2 separate regions of the Homo sapiens genome follow, and region 2 is linked to region 1. Evidence: promoter capture Hi-C in human tissues and cell types (Jung and others, 2019). All regions are on one chromosome and are shown on one strand. Each heading gives the region's core, a stretch centred on a gene start or on the middle of the fragment in contact. The rest is flanking DNA. Distances are from core to core; before and after follow the strand shown.

Region 1 (3,029 bases), core at 300-2,799:
TAATGGTAGAGGTCCGTCATTTCCCCTTTGTACCAGAAGTAGCCAGGAAGATTCTGGGGCAAATTGTGGACAAGTAGAAGAACATCCTTCCCCTCAGAAACTTTGGGTGGCTGGGCTTCAATCGTGACTTCGGCAGTGGTGGGCGGGTTCCAGAAGTTTAAAAGTGATGCTAGGAGGGGGAGACAGCATCAGTTAATATTGAGACCTATGTATTGTGGTGAAAAGATGGGGCCCTGGGTCCTGAGAAGGTCTCTTCCATCCTCAGCCTTGAAGATACACACACGCACACATACAAACAAACACACACAAAAAACGGGCATGTGTGTTTGTGTATGTGTATGTGTGTGTGTCCTACTGTCCTACTAGGTCAAGGTCAGCAGCATGACCCCCATTCCTTCAACACTTCTGACCTTGGCATTTTTCTGTTTGGAATCCTCTTCCCCAGGGGTCCACACGGCCCCCTCCACACTGCCCTCAGGTCCTGCTCACATCAGGGCATCCTTAGACTTCTTTCCTGACACCTCCTTCAGAGACCCTGGGTCTTCCCTTTCTGACCTTTCCCTGCTCTGCTCCCTCCAGGGTTCTTGTCAACACCTGATCTCACATTCTACATCTCTTCGCATGTCTGTCTTCCTCCCCATGACAGCGTGAGCTCCGTGAGGACAGGGACTTTTGTGATCCTGGTTGCACCCCAGTGCCTGGGACAGGCTGCAGACTCCTGTAGATGTGAGAGTTCTCAGGGCCCTCCATGCCCTGGGTGTTTTTTTTTCCCCCAATTGTTGAGGTTTTTTGCTGAGGATAGTGTTTCATGTCCTGCTTATATTTTTATTTGAAGTGTCATCTGATATAGTTATTATTATCATTTTTCAAAATGTGGTGGCCCCGGATGATTAATCAGGAAAACAGAACACTTAAGATTTTCCTACCTCTTACCAATTCCGGTTCAATGTGACTTTCCTCTTTTGACCCCTGTCCCTCTCTGGTGTATTTTCCCCTATCCAGGCTGCAACAGAGCCTTCTTTCCTTTTTTTCTTTTTTTTTTGAGACGGAGTCTCGTACTGTCGCCCAGGCTGGCGTGCAGTGGCGGTATCTCGGCTAGCTGCAACTTCTGCCTCCCGGGTTCACATGATTCTCCCACCTCAGCCTCCCGAGTAGCTAGGATTACAGGAGTACACCACCATACCTGGTTAATTTTTTATATTTTTAGGAGAGACTGGGCTTCACTGCATTGGCCGGACTGATCTTGAACTCCTGATCTCGTGATCCACCCACCTCAGCCTCCCTAAGAGCTGGCTTCTTTTATTTTACAACCCCATCCTCTCCAGGAGACCCCATCCAGTCACTCCGCTTCCTCCCCCTGTCCTCTCCCAGGAAGTTCTCTCCTCACCTGTGAGCAGGAGCCCCTTCCAGGTGATGCGCTGTGTGCAGGAAGGGGCTGGGAGGGGCCCCATGGTCTCTGCTGCCTGTGTGTTCTCCTCTGTGGAGATGAGCCTGGGATCCAGAAGCTGTCTGAGCACGGCTGTCAGCTGTGCTGTCCTTCCTCCTTCTGTGCTGAGCCTCTTCCCGGGGCAGGAGCACTTCTCAAGCTCATGGGCGGGGTCAGTCCCAGGACACCTCTCTGTCCCCTTCTCTCTCAGTCCTGCCTCCTTGTCCCTCCTTCTGTTTTTCCTTTTGTCTGTGTTTCAGGTCCCTGGGAGTTGTGGAGGCCTCTGCCTTTTTCAGCAGTGATTCTTTCACCAAACCTCAACACACACTTTGTGCAGACACACACACACACACACACACACACACACACACACAGAAGAGACACACACAGACCCACACAGTCAGGCACATACCCTGCAGGTTGGGCAAGCACAGTCCTGGGCCTCAGCCTCCTGCTGTCCCCATGGCTCTGGGTTGGGGTGCACATTCATGCCTTTTACCCTCTTTCATCCCCATCTGGCTCTCCCCTTCAGTGCAGGAGGCTGGAGATGCACCAGGTCCCTGTCACAGTGACACCCCATTGTGCTGTGGGTGAGCTGTGTGTTGCCTGGTGAGAGGGACCCTTCCTTTCTCTAATCGTGTCAAGCTTGACTGCAGCTTCCAAGGATGGACTTTCAGGACCTGGGTGTCCCAGAGGAAACTGTCCTTCCTGGAGGTGTGCAGGGTGAATCTCTCATGCCTCTTAGGAGGAGAGGCCTGTGCTGGTTGCTCAGTGGGGGCTGTGAGTCCCATAGTCAAAGGGACAGTTCTCTGTCAGTCTATGGCTCCCTGGGGTCTGGCGGCTGAGCTGGAGCTCAGGGTTTCTCATGTTCTCCCTGACCATCTTTGATGTCCTCTCTTCTCTGCCCAGCTGATTGTCCTGTGGTCACCACACCTTCCCCGTGGTGGTGCAGGAGGAAGTGGGGAGTTACCCAGGAACCCCGCGGGACATGGCTCATTGAGACGCAGGAGGGGGAGCCTGGGACAGAGCAGGGGTTCAGAGCTGGAGAGATTCATCCCGACTTACTCCGTGGCCATGATGGGCTCAGCCCTCCATGTGCTGACACACCCAGGGGTCTGTCCTGAGGGTTTTGACCTGGCCAAGCTGCTGTCTGTAGAGGAGGAACAGGCAGTGACCAGAGAGGCTCTCTGGAGGGACGTTGCTCACACCTGAGAGGGCGGGTGGGGGTGAGTTGTGTTCTGGGAGCAAAGAGCAATAACACCGCCCTTCTCCACGCAAGTACACAGGAGAGGTCTGTCTTCCCAAGGGACAGCTGGGGGTAGGTGGCCACATCCCGGATGGTACCTGTGAATGACCATCACACGCTCTCTGAGCCCCCTGGGGTGCAGGGGGCAGGCAGGTGACAGGGTGCCTGGCTGATTCCCGGGGAGGCTGTGGGCCCTCAGGCAGCCGCTGTTCTGTGTCGGCGCTAGGCTTGGCCTGGGAAGCCCCAGAGAACAGGACAGATGGAGCAGGGGCAGGCATTTAGGGAGCAGTGACAGAAAGAGTTGATGAGGATGGAGAGAGTTCACGAGGGGAAAGCGCCCAGTGTGGCGTCGCGTGC
Region 2 (3,029 bases), core at 235-2,734, 42 kb after region 1:
CACAACCATGAGTGCTAGGAGGAACTATGTCAACTAGAGGGCCGGAGCATAAATATTTGTGTGAAAAAGCTAGCTGTCATTGATCCTTCACATCTTTACAAGGTATGACAGAGCATGCATTAAAGGCAATGGTCTGAGATGAGTCAGACTTAGTTATGTTAATAACAAAAGGAGCTAGTAACAGAATAAGGAAAGGAAAGGAAGCAATATAGAAGGGATATGGAAATTAAGCTTTTGGTTTTTTTTAACTTTAACTTGTTAAGGCTTGATCCCGGTACACTAACCTATGATTCTGATGAGGAAGATGATTTCTTGACTTAAGTATGGTGGGTCCATCTTCTCTTGGCTGTGCGGATGGCAGTCTTGGTGGTCAACTGTACAGGATAAGGGCCTTCCCAGGCGGGCACAAGTTTCCCTTCTTTTTACCCTCTGATGAGAACATGGTCCCTGGGTTAGTGCTGGTGAGCTAGAAATTCTAGCGGTGGTGTCTGTGCTAAGAGATCTTTTATCTTAAGAGAAGAAAAGGTAGCGGAGAGACCAAGTATATAATTTCTGAGGAACTGATCCTTAGTTTCAAACATAGGAACATTAGCTGAGGAATGTAAATAAGGCAATCCATATAACATTTTATATGGAGACAGGCCTGTATCCTTTTGGGGAGCTGTCCTGATCCTTAATAAGGCAATGGGAAGACATTTGGTCCATGGTAAATGAGTTTCTAGAATTAATTTAGTCAGATGATTCTTAAGGGTTTGATTTATTCTTTCTACTTGTCCGGAGGATAAGGGATGCCAGGGAATATGATATTCCCATTTTATGTCTAGCACTTGGGCCAGCTTTTTAATAATATGTGCAGCAAAATGGGTTTCATTGTTTGAGTCAATATTTTCTATTATTCCAAACTTGGGTATAATATGCTCAATTAATGGTTTTACCACATTATTGGCAGTTGCCTCGAAAAGGGGATGGCTTCTACCCAGTGGTTAAGGTAATTAATTATTACTAGCAGGTGTTTTAGCCGACTAATGGGTGGCATTTTAGTATAATCGACTTGGACGTTTTGGAATGGTCTTAACTCCGGAGTTCTTCCTCCGAAAGGCAATTTCCTTTCAGCTTGTTTGTCAGCTTTCTTACAGATGAGACAGCCATTTGTGATCTGCCTGTCTAGAATATAAATGCCAATACACCTAAAGACTCTGAGAATCATGTCACATAGGGCCTGGGGACCCCAGTGAGTCCCTTGATGTAAATGGGATAATACTTCCCTCATAAAGGGTTTAGATAGCATCTCTCTTTGATCTGGAAGTATGCAGCTTTCTTATGAATTTTTTTTTTTTTTTGCTTTGGGATTTCAACTAATTTTTCTTTCCCAGCCAGGGAGAAGATAGGCACAACAGTAGGAGAAGGAAGGTGGGGAGTTAAATGAAAAATGGGCATATCTAAGACTGCAGCCTTTTTGGCCATCTGATCTGCAAGGTTATTCCTTCGGCTCTTAAGGGAAAAATCATGTTGATGTCCAGGAATGTGCATGATGGCTATCTACTTTAGTAGCTGGAGATTATCTAAGACATGACTAATGACTTATGAGCAAGTTCTTGGCCCCTACTATTTATAAGACCTTGTTCAGCCTAAATCTTCCCAAATGTGTGTGCTACCCTAAAGGCATACTTAGAATCTGTGTAGATAGTTTCTATCTGATCCTTTAAATATTTTAAGGCCTGACTGAAGGCAAATAATTTACAAGCTTGAGCAGAATAGCTATTGGGTAACCATCCTGATTTAATTTCTTCGAGTGTCTCTCTATCTACTACTGCATATCCACTGTGTTATTCCCCATTAAACACCCAGGGGGACTTGTCTATGAATAGGTGTTGCCCCGATCTATAGAGGCCTCAGCTAAATCTGGCTGGACTTTTGTATGGTAGTCAATTAAGTTGAGGCACAAGTGTTCTGTCTGTAGCAACGGATTTCCCGTCAAGAACCCTGCAGGGTTGAGTGAGTTATCTGTTGTTATGGTTAAGTCATTTAAATCATCCTTTTTTTTTTAACAGAATAGCCTTATATTTTAAAATTCTGGAATCAGTGGGCCAGCTTCCTGCTTTTTGGCTCAAAATGGTCTTGACTTGATGAGATGTGCTCACGGTCAAATACCCCCCAAAGGTTATTTTTCTACTTTTTTCTACTAATATGGCTGTGGTTGCAATAGATTGAATATACTGGGGCCACCCACTGGCAACAGGATTTAAAATCTTAGACAGAAAAGCTACTGGTTGTCACCGGCCTCCGTGTTCTTGAGTGAGCACCCCTAAGGCTACTCCATTGCTTACATTAACAAAAAGGTGGAAGGGCTTCTTAAGAGAAGGCAGAGCTAAAACTGGAGCAGACATTAGTCTATGCTTCAGTTTATTAATTTGATCTACTTCTTTAGAGGACCACATAAGGGGGTCAGGCCCCTTATTAGCTAACTTTTCATATAATAATTTACTTCTTAATGCATAGGAGTCGATCCATAATCGGCAGTATCTAATTAATCCTACAAACTTTTTAAGTTCTTGTTTGATCCAGGGCAGTGGCAGGGACAGAATTCCTTCTACTCGCTCAGGACCAATTCTTCTTTTGCTGGTGCTAAATGGCCCATGTATTTGACTTCTGGTTCTACATATTGGAGCTTCTCTTTTGAGACTCGTAGCCCTTCAGTGTATAAATGATTTAGAAAATAGATGGTGTACTTATTTACTTTCTCTATATCCTCTCCAGGTATAAGAATATCATCCATGTGTTAAGTAAACATAGCTGTTTTGGGATAGCAGCCCTCTCTATGACTTTCTCTAAGGCATGACTAAAAGGGTTTGGTGAATCTGCAAACCCTTGATACAGAACTGTCCATCTGTATTGTTGCTTCTGCCCACTGTGGGGGTCCTCCCACTCAAAGGCAAACAGGTCAGGCTGTTTTCCACTAAAAGACATGCCCAGAAGTCATCCTCTAAATTTAAGACAGTGAACTACTGATTACTATATGGAATTTTACT

What was found. The method cuts DNA at HindIII sites, captures the fragments that hold promoters and counts their contacts. A contact is called where the count stands out against the background at its distance.
Region 2: a fragment that was not itself captured here is called in contact with the fragment with the promoter of PSG9 in region 1 in 8 of the 25 tissues and cell types used here (H1 embryonic stem cells, aorta, bladder and 5 more).

Annotation. Positions count from the first base shown.
Region 1 is chr19:43,267,981-43,271,009 of GRCh38, forward strand. It overlaps PSG9 (pregnancy specific beta-1-glycoprotein 9), which reads right to left and starts at 1,550. Exons shown (of 6, transcript NM_002784.5): 1 at 1,388-1,550; 2 at 1-169. The coding sequence starts at 1,451. The HindIII fragment of the contact is 8,927 bases long and covers 1-3,029 here.
Region 2 is chr19:43,310,306-43,313,334 of GRCh38, forward strand. No RefSeq gene overlaps it. Among named protein-coding and RNA genes, the nearest start is that of LINC03078, 20 kb to the right of the region's middle. The HindIII fragment of the contact is 6,408 bases long and covers 1-3,029 here.